2 separate regions of the Homo sapiens genome follow, and region 1 is linked to region 2. Evidence: promoter capture Hi-C in 16 types of primary human blood cells and fetal thymus (Javierre and others, 2016). All regions are on one chromosome and are shown on one strand. Each heading gives the region's core, a stretch centred on a gene start or on the middle of the fragment in contact. The rest is flanking DNA. Distances are from core to core; before and after follow the strand shown. Region 1 holds the start of LOC105374150 (a long non-coding RNA gene). Region 2 holds the start of AGTR1 (angiotensin II receptor type 1).

What was found. Contacts are between HindIII fragments. The CHiCAGO score rates a contact against its expected background, and 5 or more counts as called.
Region 1: a fragment that was not itself captured here is called in contact with the fragment with the promoter of AGTR1 in region 2 in 1 of 17 cell types (megakaryocytes); the score reaches 6.1 in megakaryocytes.

The regions. Positions count from the first base shown.
Region 1 is chr3:148,462,654-148,469,323 of GRCh38, forward strand. LOC105374150 (a long non-coding RNA gene) reads right to left here and starts at 3,138. Exons shown (of 7, transcript XR_924571.2): 1 at 2,251-3,138; 2 at 1,727-1,786. The HindIII fragment of the contact is 1,463 bases long and covers 3,529-4,991 here.
Region 2 is chr3:148,694,200-148,701,035 of GRCh38, forward strand. It overlaps AGTR1 (angiotensin II receptor type 1), which reads left to right and starts at 3,704. Exons shown (of 3, transcript NM_000685.5): 1 at 3,704-3,928. It also overlaps the pseudogene RPL38P1. The HindIII fragment of the contact is 4,344 bases long and covers 1,154-5,497 here.

The sequences.
Region 1 (6,670 bases), core at 3,010-5,509, 230 kb before region 2:
GAAAAATGCTCACTATCACTAATGATCAGGGAAATGCAAATCAAAACTGCAATGCAATACCACCTTACTCCTGCAAGAATGGCCATAATAAAAAAAAAATTAATAAAATAGATGTTGGCATGGATGCAGTGAAAAGGGAACACTTCCACACTGCTGGTGGGAATGTAAACTAGTACAACCATTATGGAAAACAGTGTGGAGGTTCCTTACAGAACTAGAAGTAGAACTACCATTTGATTCAGCAATCCCACTACTAGGTATCTCCCTAAAGGAAAAGAAGTCATCATGCAAAAAAGATACTTGCACACACATGTTTATAGCAGCACAATTCACAATTGCAAAACTATGGAACCAGCTGAAATCCTCATCAATCAACGATTGGATAAAGAAATTGTGGCATATATATATATATACAATGGAATACTATTCAGTAATAAAAAGGAACAAATTAACAGCATTTGCAGCAACCTGGATGGAACTAGAGACTATTATTCTAAGTAAAGTGACTCAGGAATGGAAAACCAAACATTGTATGTTCTCACTCATAAGTGGGAGCTAAGCTATGAGGGTGCAAAGGCATAAGAATGATACAATGGGCCAGGTGCGGTGGCTCACGCCTGTAATCCCAACACTTTGGGAGCCCAAGGTGGGCGGATCATGAGGTCAAGAGATCGAGACCATCCTGGCCAGCATGGTGAAACCCCATCTCTACTAAAAGTACAAAAAGTTAGCTGGGCGTGGTGGTGCGTGCCTGTAGATCCAGCTATTTGGGAGGCTAAGGCAAGAGAATTGCTTGAACTCAGGAGGCAGAGGTTGCAGTGAGCCGAGATGGCACCACTGCACACCAGCCTGGCAACAGAGTGAGACTCTGTCTCAAAAGAAAAAAAGAATGATACAATGGACTTTGGGGACTCAGGAGAAAGGGTGGGAGGCGGGTGAGGGATAAAAGACTACAAATTGGGTTTAGTGTGTACTGCTCAGGTGATGCGTGCACCAAAATCTCACAAATCACCACTAAAGAATTTGCTCATGTAACCAAATAACACCTGTTCCCCAAAAACCTAGGGAAATAAAAAAATAAACTAAAAGTTTAACTAGCTTCTTTTTCCTTTAATTAATTTTCTGGGATCCTACCCCTATTTATAAATATACAAAATGACTCACTCATTCAACAAATAGCAGTTAATAGTCAATAACTGTTGGCTGCATACTAAGAAATATACTACATATTAAAGACATACAGTTAAATAAAATATTAGTCTCTAGGTCTTAGCCTATCAGGAGACCTAGACCAAAATAAAGTGTTGCATTACAGCATGGGAAGTGCCATCATCCAGCTCTGGTCAGAGATAGAAGCTCCAACAATGAGCCTTTTCTCTCTGTCAGTCTGGGTGTACCCTGGGTGTAAATATTGGGGACGGTGGCATTTTCTGAGGAAAAGATGCATATCTTGAGTCTTGACATTTGAGTTGGAATTATTCAGACAGATAAGAACAAATAAATTTTTAAGAGTCTGGCAAGTAAGATTTGGAAACAAGCCTTCCATACCACAATCACTTGTGTTTATTCATAACTTCACTTTTTCATTCTTTCATTCATTTGGCAGATGTTTCTGAACAACATCAGAAGGAAGGCCAGGAAAAAAGATTATAAGATTATAAAATAAATAGCTGCAATGCATATGATAACTGTGATAAAAATTTGTACAATAAGAACATTCACTCACTTATTCAACTAGGACTCAGGAAATATCCAGGCACAGGAGACAAGATGACATCATCCATGCCTTCAAGGAACAGGAAAAACACAAATCGGAATAGTCACATAGTAATAATCTCATCTAACTCTGCACAAAGGGGAAACATTGAAATGTCTGTCATGCCAGGCTCTACTCCTTGGAGAAATGGTTAGCTGCAAAGATTTTGTAAAACCAGTTTGCATTCGCTAGCTAAATAAGTTAGAATGATTGAAGGTTATCATTATATTGGTGCAACAGTAATTGTGGTTTTTGCCTTAAAAAAAAAAAAAGTCAAAAACCGCAATTACTTTTGCACCAACCTAATAGCTTGAGAGCTATAGTCATACAGATAGAAATTAAGTCCAATTTCCACACTAGTTGTGTAACTGTGGGAAAGTTCATTGATCTCCTGGTTTCAGTTTTCTATATTGTCAAAAGGGGATGATAATGGTTCCTGCCTCATTTGGTTATTGTGAGCTTAAATTAACTAATTAAAGTGCTTGGCACAGTACCTGGCTCAGCAGGTTCTTGGTACATGTTGGCTATTTCTCCCCTCTTTCCTCTTCATTTTCTTCTTACCTTAATGACTCAGCTAGACAAGACTCTGACCAGAGAGAAAGCATATGCAAAAGAATAGGAGTGTGAATTAATCCATCATGGGCTTGATGAGAGCACTGCAAGTGATTAGATATCTAACCAGTCAGTCATTCTGTTAGTCTGTAAGTGTCAATATTGATGCCAGTCTGTAGATATTGAATGCCTATTTTGTTTCAAGCACAACCTCAGGTGCCCCGATGTATTCTAGGGGCTGTTGTTGAAAAATGTGCTGGATACAGAGAACCAAAGCCACGAGTAGCCAATTTTGCCTCGTTAGGAGTTTGCTGAGAAAGCTGTCATAGGAAAACTCAAGTTTGAGTCATTTAATAGAAGAGTTGAGAGCTCGCTTTTGTCTGTTCTGAGGAATGGAAGGCATCCCAGGCACCTTAGTTCAAAGGTGTGAAACAAAGCCTGTGTGCACGGATCTTAAAGAACCTTTGAATTAATATAGAAGAAAACGCTATCCTTTGGCTTAGATGTGAAGAGCAGTAAGACGTCAATATCAAGTGGTAAAGAAGACAAACTCTGGAAGTCTAAAAGTCACTTAACAGGATACCAAAATGGGATATCCTGCCTGTAGATAGCCCTTTTCTGTTACAGGAGAAAACCTGCATTAGATGGATTTTGAAACACCAAGGATCAAATTGGATCTTCTGAAAGAAAACAACGACATATAGAAATTTTAATAAGCGGTATCACACTGCTAGTATGTCATTATCTTCACCAACCCTAGGGTTCTTTCACAGGCAGGTTACATAAAGTATGCAGAAATGTTGAATCACATTTTAAATCTTATTTCTCAATATATCACCTAAGATGTCTTCATAATAAGTGTATTTAATTCTACATAAAAAATATGAAGAAAGGCCTCAATAAGCCATTATATGTATCTCTGTGAACACTACCCTTTTATGAGAATATTTTATTCTAGGCAGCAGTCACGTTCCTCAAAAACAATAAGAAAACATAAATGTAAATTCTGATTTGTATCCCATACATAAAACAATAATTCTTTATAATAATCTGTCTTAATTCATGGACCAATAAAGATTACATTCTAAAAAAGATTACTCAAACCTCACTTTAGAAGAAAGATTAAAAATAATTGAGACAAAAACTGAAAAGGCATTTAAAATGGAAAAATGGGGTGTTTTTATCAAACAGTTTTCCTTTAAGCATGTGTCTGCACTTCAAGCTTCTTCCGTCTCACCAGCAATCCTTGGCCCCTTTTTCTTTTCTGACTCTGCAAGTTGGAATTTCTGTCAGTTTGTGACTGAGTACTGATTGTCATTGTTAGGTTTAAGAGCAAGGAAGTGGGAAGGTGGCAGCCTCATTGTGGTGGTGGCTGACGTGAACTCTGGAGAAGAGGAAGGCTTGAATCACCCCCAGCTTTGAAATCACCCCACTCAACTTTTATCATTCTAACAACAGAAGTTGAAGGAAGTTTGCCATTCTCCACCCCTTTTCTTCACTGTGGTGTGGCAAATGTTAGAGGCATCTGAGACAAAATTCAGACCAGTAATAAATTAACTAGGCTCTTCCTACAAAGAAAAATAACACAATAAATAGGAAATAAATGTCTGAAAGGGTTTTCTCAAGCAGCAGAAATCAAAAAAGGCAGAATGCACAAAAGAAGAACATAAAGAAGAGAGATGCAAAGAAAACATGGGGGCACCATGGGGGGGCCTGTGAAATAGAGTCTTAAAACATATACAAAGACCAAAGAAAGAGTTAGTGATGTGAAGGACTGGGGGTCAGGGGAAGAACCAAATCAGAAAGGAAAAGTATAAAATTCAAAGACAGAAAGGGGACATTAAAAGGTACTGAGCTGTCACGTGAGGCCACAGCACCAGAAGGCCCTGTCTTTTTGCCAAGACTTTGAAAACATAAAAAGCTCCAGATATGTTGTCATTAGGCATTGAAATAAAGTTCCAAAAGCCTTTAAGATATACATGCTTTTAAATATCATGATAAATTATGCATCTATGACACAGATTGGGATGCCCTGGCCTTCAAGTAATCAATAATTCAAAAGCTATGAACATGAACCTAATCCAAATGGCAGGTTCAAAATTGGATTCTAAAAGGATTTGCACCATTGACAAGAAGGGTGTGCCCAGCAAACTATTTCCCTCTCATCATAAAGAAAAAGGAGTAGCTTAAGCATGCACTTGTATATGCAACACTGGAATATTTCAGCTGAATGTCTTGTGTAAATAGTCAGATGAATTATTCATGGATTTTTCAAAACTTTGTCTTTTTTAATTGTAAATATTCTATCAAGGCTCTAGATCCACTAGCTACATAATGACATCTCAGATGATTTCCATTTCTTGGAGCAATGACAGTATGAATGTTGAGCCAGCTCACTGAAGGGAGCAAGAGTTTTAAGCCTGGCAATATCCATATATGACCAGACATTTTTTTCCTAATATGCTAATGTGTCAATATAAAGAAAATATGATGACATCTAGTAGTTACTTTGTCATTTCTATTTTACTCAAAATATTTTCTTCCAGTCTTAAACAGAGTTAAACTATTGCCAAGTGATGTACAAGGCAATTGCTACATTTATGTGAGATGTTCTACAGACTTTAAATCTGACATTTGAAATTGCTCCTAATTGAAGAGCTGCAAGTTGTACTTTAAATAATAAAGCTTTTACTCACACAGTCAAACTCCTTTCTTGGAAAGCTAGCAAAAGGAAGATACTTTTCTTCCCCAAAATTAATGTTGCTATCTGTTGAGATAATAGCATTCAAACTTAATTGTAGGATCAGTTTATTAACTAATAGGAGTCCTATCTTTAAGGAACTTCTTTGGATACTCTCTAAAATCAAAGCATAGTCAGTATTCTTATTTCAAAATCATAGATGTAGATACTCTCTAAAGATACTCTCAGATACTCTCTAAAATCAAAGCATAGTCAGTATTCTTATTTCAAAATCATAGATGTAGACTAGCAGGGACAATAATTTGTGAATTAAACCAGTCTCTCTTCCCCTACTTTCCTAAACATAAATCTCTCAGCTTAACTGCTTAAGTGCAGGTATGATGATTTTCTTTGTATCTCAATTTCCCGCAGTTAAAATTCCATTTAACGAGGGCATTTTAGCTGCTCCATATTATACTGCTGCAATTGCATTACAGAAATTATGTACTAAGGATGCAGTGATTAAAATTGATATTTGACTTAATTACAGGGTACAGTACATGGATATTTGAATGTAACTTAATGGAAAACAAGATGCTTTATTTGTAGTGATTTTCAAAGCTTTTATCCTTGCAGAAAGCTCCCTTGTCAGTAGCTGTTGGGCCAAATCTCAAGCTGCTGACTCTCTTCAGAAGGAATAAAGAAGAATATGCATAAATATGAAGCTAATGATGTAGTTATCCTGCTAAAATACTACACAATTATAATATATTATCTTCTAAATAGTGCCTTTCTCAATCAATTGTCCTAATTCTATTATACCTCACTGAAGTAAATATTTAAATAGCCAGATGACAAATTTTCATAGTACCATACATCAAACAGCAAATATATTACATGAAATATGTCAAAATTTTGACTAATAAAGAAAGAATTAGAAGGGCTATGACTGCAAGAAGGGAAAGTATGTAGTCATAACTTATATATAATTTAGTTAATAAGTCTACCTAAAGTCAATCTATCTTCAATGAGAAAGGGACTGGGAATACAATTATGTATTTATTTATCTATTTATTTATTTATTTTTACAAAGTCACATTTCAAAGCAATGTTTTAAATTTAAAATATAATATTTTAAGATCTAGTTAAAGGTTTATATATCAGATAATCACTTCAAATATATGCCTCTAAATGATTCACTCTTTTAAACAACTAAATCATAATAACAGTTTTTGGTTTAGTTTCAACTTGTGCTCTTTCACTAAATATATACCCATCTAGTTACCCTAAGTTTTGGAGCACACAACAATAACAAATACATCTTAAGTATATTTGAACACGAATTTATATACCTATGCCCAAAGCATTTGATTTAAATTGAGACTATAACTCACAAATTTAAAAGACTAGAATTAGCTCTAACATCATGGGGAGGGAATATGAAAACAGAAACAGGAAGGGCAAATCCATTAAATAGGGGTTGCAATTCATATGAAATATACAATTTCCATAAGTCACTTATCTAGCAACTTCACTGTATGAAGACATCTGAAAAATCATCTGAAGAACCTAAACAGGTATTACAAAGTTGAGTGACACTTGTTAATGACTTACTTACTCTTATCTTGTGCAGAGCTTATTCATCTGCTCCCTTAGGCATGTATATTAGAAGAGGTAGATAT
Region 2 (6,836 bases), core at 2,454-4,953:
CTTTTATTGCCAAACAATATCCTATGGTATGGAGATATCACATTTTATCTATTCATCAGTTGATAGATATTTGACTTATTTCTGCTTTGGGGCTATTATGAATAATGCTGCTATGAATTTTCACGTCTACATTTTTGTGTGGACATATGTTTTCATTTCTAATGAGTATATACCTAGGAATGGAATTGCTGAGCCATATGGTAACTCTATCTATGCTTAGCATTTTGAAGAATTGCCACTGTTTTCCAAAATGGCTGCACTATTTTATATTCCCACCAACAATATATGAGGGATCCAATTTCTCCACATTCTGGACAACACTTGTTACTATCTGACTTTTTGATTATAGCTATCCTAGTAGGCCTAAAATCATAACTAATTGTTCCTTTGAGTTGCATTTTCCTGCTGGCTAATAATGTTGAGTTTTTTTATGTGTTTGTCTACCTTCTTTAGAGAAATGTATATTAAGATCCTTTGACCATTTTTAATGGTGTTTTTATTATCTTTGTGTGTGCTTTATTATCTTTATATGTTCTATACACAAGTCCTTATCAGGTATATAATTTGCAAATATCTTTGCACATTCTTGGCTTTTTCTTTTCACTTTCTTGATACCCTTGGAAGTATAGATGCTGTTAATATTGATGAAATCAAATTAATTTACCTACTTTTTCTTGTATTTCTTATGCTTTTGGAGTTGTATCTAAGATGGCTTTGCATAACCCAAGGTAACAAAGGTTTACTCCTACGTTTTCTATTTAGTTTTATAATTTTTCTCTTAAGCTTGGGTCTATGATCCATTTTGACTTAATTTTTACATGTGGTATTATAAGGAGTCCAACTTCATTCTTCTGCATGCAGATATCCAATTATTCCAGTACCATTTGTAATAAAGATTACTCATTCTGCATTTTTTCAACCCTTTTCAAAATCTAGTGGCTCATAAATGTAAGGGTTTAGTTTGTGGACACAATTCTGTTCCATTGATCTTTCTATCTATTGCTATGCCAGTACCACATTGTCTTGTTTATTGTAATTTTGCAGTAAATTTTGAAATTGGTAAGTTTGTTCTTTTTCAGAATTGTCTTGACTATTCTGGGCCCCTCGCACTGCTACATGTTTTTAGGATAACTCCATTCATTTCTGCAATAAAAGCTTGCTGGGTTTTGATAGAGATTTTGTTTAACCTGTAGATCATTTGAAGATTAATGCCATTGTAACGATATTAAATCTTTCAATCCAAGAACATGGAATGTCATTCCATTTATTTAGGTCTACCTTATTTCAACAATTCTTTTTGTTTGTTTTCAGACTACAAGTTTTAGATCCTTTTGTTAAATTTATTTCTTAGGGTTTTTTTTGTTTTGTTTTGTTTTGTTGGTTGGTTGGTTTGTTTTGAGATGGAGTCTCACTCTGTCACCCAGGCTGGAGTGCAGTGGCACAATCTCAGCTCACAGCAACCTCTACCTCCTGGGTTCAAGCGATTCTTCTGCCTCAGCCTCCTCCTCCTGAGTAGCTGGAACTACAGGCATGCACCACCACGCCTGGCTTTTTTTTTTTTTTTTTCTTTTGCATTTTTAGTAGAGACAGGGTTTCACGATGTTGGCCAGCCTGGTCTCGAATCCCTGACCTTGTGATTCACCCACCTCGGCCTCCCAAAGTGCTGAGATTACAGGAGTGAGCCACTACACCAGGTCATTTCTTAGTATTTTTACTCTTTTGATCTATAGTAAGTAAAATTGTTTTTATCTTTGAATTTTTAAATTTTTAACACAGTTCAAATCAGTGTGTCTGATTTCATCTCCTTCTCTAACAAACCAGGGTGCCAGAACTGCTTCAGTTTCTCTGCCTTCTCTTTGTCTATGATGACTAATGTATGAAGGTATCTGCTGCATCAAACTTTAAACTTCACATTATCCTTATTTCTCTTGACCTTGACAGATCTGGCATCTTTTCACCTGGCTGTAAGCAGAAAGTCCTTGATCTCCTTAACTTTTTGAGGCATGGCAGCATGTGAGGCAGGGAGAGGACACAGACCCACACAGCAAGTGGTGAGAAGCCAACAGTGGAATTGTTTTCTTAATTCCATTTGTTGATTGTTTATTGCTAGTGTATAGAAATACAACTGATTTTTGTATATTGATCTTGTATTCTAAAAACTTGCTCAACTTGTTTCTTAGTTCTAATAGTTAATTAATTGATTCCTTAGGGCTTTTTAATACAAGATCATGTCATCTACAAATAGAAATTGTTTTACTTTCTTTCTAATCTGGATGCCATTTATCTTTTTTTCTTGTCCAATTGCCCTCACTAGAACCTTTAGTACAAAGTTAAATAGAAATGGGAAGACTAGACATTTTGTCTTGTTCCTGATCTTAGACATAAAAACGTTGTCTTCCGTTATTATGTGTGATATTAGTTAAGTTTTTCATAAATAAACTTCACAGTTTGAGGAAGTTCCTATTCCTAGTTTGTTGAGTGTTAGCATGAAAAAGTGTTGAATTTTGTCCAATAGTTTTTAAAAATTTTTTTAGACAATCATGTAGGCTTTGTCCATTTTTTACTTCTTTAAATTTATTTTTATTGATACACAATAGATGTACACTTTTTAGGTACATGCAATAATTTAATGCCCCTCACTATAAATTCGGAGCTGCCTCCTCGCCGATGATTCCAGCGCCTGACAGCCAGGACCCCAGGCAGCAGCGAGTGACAGGACTTTTTAGGTACATGCAATAATTTAATGCATTCATATAAAGATCAAATCAGTGCAATTGGCATATCCATCACCTTAAATATTTGTCTTTTCTTCATGCTAGAAACATTCAAGTTATTTTCTCCTAGCTACTCTGAAATATACAATAGATTACTGTAAACTACAGTCACCCTACTCACCTATCTAACATTAATTGATTTTTGGTAAACTAATCTAATCTTGCTTTCTGGCATCAACCTCACTTGACCATGGTGTATAGTCCCTTTCATATGTTATTGGATTCAATTTGCCTACATTTTGTTGAGAATTTTTATCTATACTCTTAAGAAATATTGATCTGTAGTCTCGTGATGTCTTTATCTGGTTTTGTTATCAGGGTGATACTGGCCTCATAGCATGAGTTGGGAGATCATCCTTACTCTTCTATTTTTTGGAAGAGTTTGTGAAGAATTGATATTATTTCTTCTTTAAATATTTATTGGGTTTTTAAAATACATTTTTAAAATGCAACTTGGGTAGCATGTCCAATAGGAACAAATGAGTGTCCACCCTTGAATTTCATAACCCTGGAATTAATCCATGTAATCTATGATCCACAACTGTATTACCAAAGTTCGAGTTACTCATAGGAAAGAGAAAGAAGTTCTCTAATTCGTCCTTAAAAGTTTTCCAAGTTCAGAAAAAAAAAATGTTGAAGAACACGAATCTCCGCAGGAAATGATACTCCTGTACCCCCAGCTCGCTCTCCCTCACGACCCCTCGCTAGGCGGGGTTCGGGACCAGGTGAACGCTGATCTGATAGTTGACACGGGACGACTGTGGCATCATCCTTGCTGCCGTCAATATCCCGAGAGGGAGGAGGTTGGGCCGGGAGGGTCTCCCGGGGCGGGGCGGAGGAGGAGGGAATGCAAAACAGAGCCTCGTCCCCGGAACCCAAGAAGCAGCAACGCCCCTCACTATAAATTCGGAGCTGCCTCCTCGCCAATGATTCCAGCGCCTGACAGCCAGGACCCCAGGCAGCAGCGAGTGACAGGACGTCTGGACCGGCGCGCCGCTAGCAGCTCTGCCGGGCCGCGGCGGTGATCGATGGGGAGCGGCTGGAGCGGACCCAGCGAGTGAGGGCGCACAGCCGGGACGCCGAGGCGGCGGGCGGGAGACCCGCACCAGCGCAGCCGGCCCTCGGCGGGACGTGACGCAGCGCCCGGGGCGCGGGTGAGTCCGCGCGGACCGCCAGGCATGCTTGGGGGACTTCAAGGGCGGGGTGCTAAGTTTCATGTCACGGTGTCCTAACTGCTGGCTCTATACTGGGAAGCTCTCGGGGACCAAGGAAAGAGCGACCGTAGTTCTGGTCAGCGCCTGCCCCTGGAGCTGGCCACACTTTCCCAAATCAGGTGAGGGGCTTCTGGAATGGGAGGGAACAAGGTAGGTTTGTTTGCCACGTGCCTCGAAATTCTCAATCCATTTTAACCAAACTCTTCCGAGTGCAAGGAAGAAATCTACAGAAATAAGATGCAATTCAATAAACTTTCTTCCTGAGGCTTTTAGTTAACTCTTGTATTTTAGCCATCATCTGAGCGGGAAGCCGGTATGACTCTGCAAGGCGTTCGTTTAAAAGTTGTGCTACTTTTGAGGTGAAGTTAAGAGTGTCTCCATCCACGCCCTCTGCTTCCCAGTCAATGTCCCTGCACTGCTCACGTCCCTTTAGCTCTCTCCCTGCAAACCATAGCGGTGGGTCCTAGACACGGGACATCGCTCCAACCTTGGCCAAACTCTCCCACCCTCAGGGTTCCCAGATGTCCTTTGAATAATCAAACTGAGGAAGGAGAAGCAAGATGTCTCCACACCCCAATCCCTACAGCCTTAGCCAATGCATGTGTGTAACTGAGACAGAATTTTAGCAAAAGGTCTCCTGCTTCCAGGACTAAACAGAGCCTCTGGCAGGCCACTGCCCGACACCCAACTCCATCCTCCAATTTTCTTAAATGTCCAGGTAAACATCTCCATAGTGCCAGCCTGCTATAGTCTCCCGAAGACCTCAGCAATTCTTCCCCAAAGCGTCTCCTTCTGCACCGTTTTTTTCTTTGGGCAACCATTTGTGACCTGGCTATTGAGCCCACCTGGGCCTCTTCTCTTTGTTTGCTGATAGCCTCGTTAAGTATTAAAAACCTACTCCCCCCCTTCAGGAGCCCTCTTTTAATGAAAGTTTGGGTACTGGGATCAGATTTGGGACTTGGCTACATTTATTTCCTGTGTCATTCTGAGAAGAGAAAGTAATAGAGGCAAGAAATTTGGCACCCTATTGATCTATTTTATTACTTTGTTGAGCAACTTGTGCTTCCCGCTGAAGATGCTGCATCCCAACATGATTCTCTTATTATTAGTTACCACCTGAGGGTTTTGGATCTCCAGGTGTTTATTTCACATAGCATATGCTTTAACCCCCTTATAAGTCTTCTCTAAGGAAGAAACTGCCATACTTCCCTTGTCTTCTCCGGTGTTTCCCTAGCTATAAAGGCCCCACCTGCATAACCTGTCCTCAGGCTGTGATGTATTCCCGGGTGCCCTGGTACCTTCTCCTTCCTCTCCACCACCCTTCCTGACAGTGCAGGGGCAGGAAAGCATGGGGAGAAGGGAAATGGAGACTCCCACTTAACTTGCTGTGTGATAGTAAGAGCATTATTTCACAACTCTGAACCTCAAGTCTCTGCCCATAAGGTTCCCTCCAGTGATATAATTCCTTAATTTCTTTTGTTTTGGTTATTGCTTTAAAATAAAAGTCTAAGCTTAAGGCTAGGTTATAGAAACTGCCCATCATAATTGCTAGGTCTCAACATTTGCTTAAGTTTTGTGATTCTTAGTTTCAAGTCTGTTACCCACTCTCTCTCCCCGCCACCTTTTTTCCCCCTGACTTCATTGTTCTTTGTTCCCATCCTGAGGCCTTGATTTCTGGTTCTGCTCTTCTTTGACCTTAAACTGAATCAACTCTTCCATCATCCAACTCAGAATAAAATTGGTTTTCTTCCACCGGTTCCACTGATGCCAATGGAAGACTTGTCTTCCTTGCGATTTGCAAAATGTCTTTCAGTCACAGGTGCTGCGGCAATGCTGCTGTCCCACAGCATTCTAAGCTTCAGTCTTTCTCTCTCTTATCGTGGGTCAGTATTCAGAAAAGGGCAGATTTGTGGGTTGTTCAGGTTTCTCACTTTTCTTTTTCTTCTTTCTAGTTTGGGATCAGAGTTGTGTGAGTATTTGTGTATATAATTTTGTTTTGGTTTTTTGTTCCTGCTGCTACTTACGACTGCTGTTATTATTTCAATTATGACTAATTAATACTAATGACTAATTTTCCCCTATGCTAGAGGGAAAATAAGGAAGAAAAGTTTACTCTGCTACTTACCCAAAGCCCAGGTAAAATGCTTAGCTGAGAAGGAATTTAAAACTCATAGTTTAAATGCATGATGCATGTCTGCTGTCATTTTATCTGTGCTGCCACAGTGTCCTTTCAAGCAGATAACTGAGAGTTGCTGTATTTTGCTTTCGAATTTGTTACAGGGACAAAAATAGTGACCCCTCACATTTAGGTGTTTTGGCTGCTTAATGCGAGCTCCTGCCCTCTAGCCGCATGCTTATTAGTTTACCTAGCCCTTTTTCTGGTCAGTCATGACTGGAGAATGCCAAAGAGTCTCCCAAGTAGGCTACCAAATTAAGAATTGTGTTTAGAAGTTTGAAGTCAGTCCAAGTGTTGTAAAGATTAAAACGTTGTTTTGAAGATATGCTGTGTCAATAAACAAATATGGAGCCAGAGCAACACAATGTGACCAAGTGTCCAAGCCCAGCTTAGGAACACTTTTCTCCCATGTTATCTAGCAAACTGACAAATCAGCTTTCCAACACGTGATGATTGGAAAATGCTATTAGTTTCCTTCAAAATTCTCCTAATGTTTCTTTTTCAAAATTGCCTAAGATCATTGGATTATGTGGTTTGTGTTTCTTTTCACTGTAGCTGCTTGTTAAAGCAGTATACTCAATCTCTGATAAGCAACAGTAAATTTGATCGATTTGTATCCTAAATTTAGCTATCACTTTACATTTTGTTTTATTCATAATATGAACTTTAGCT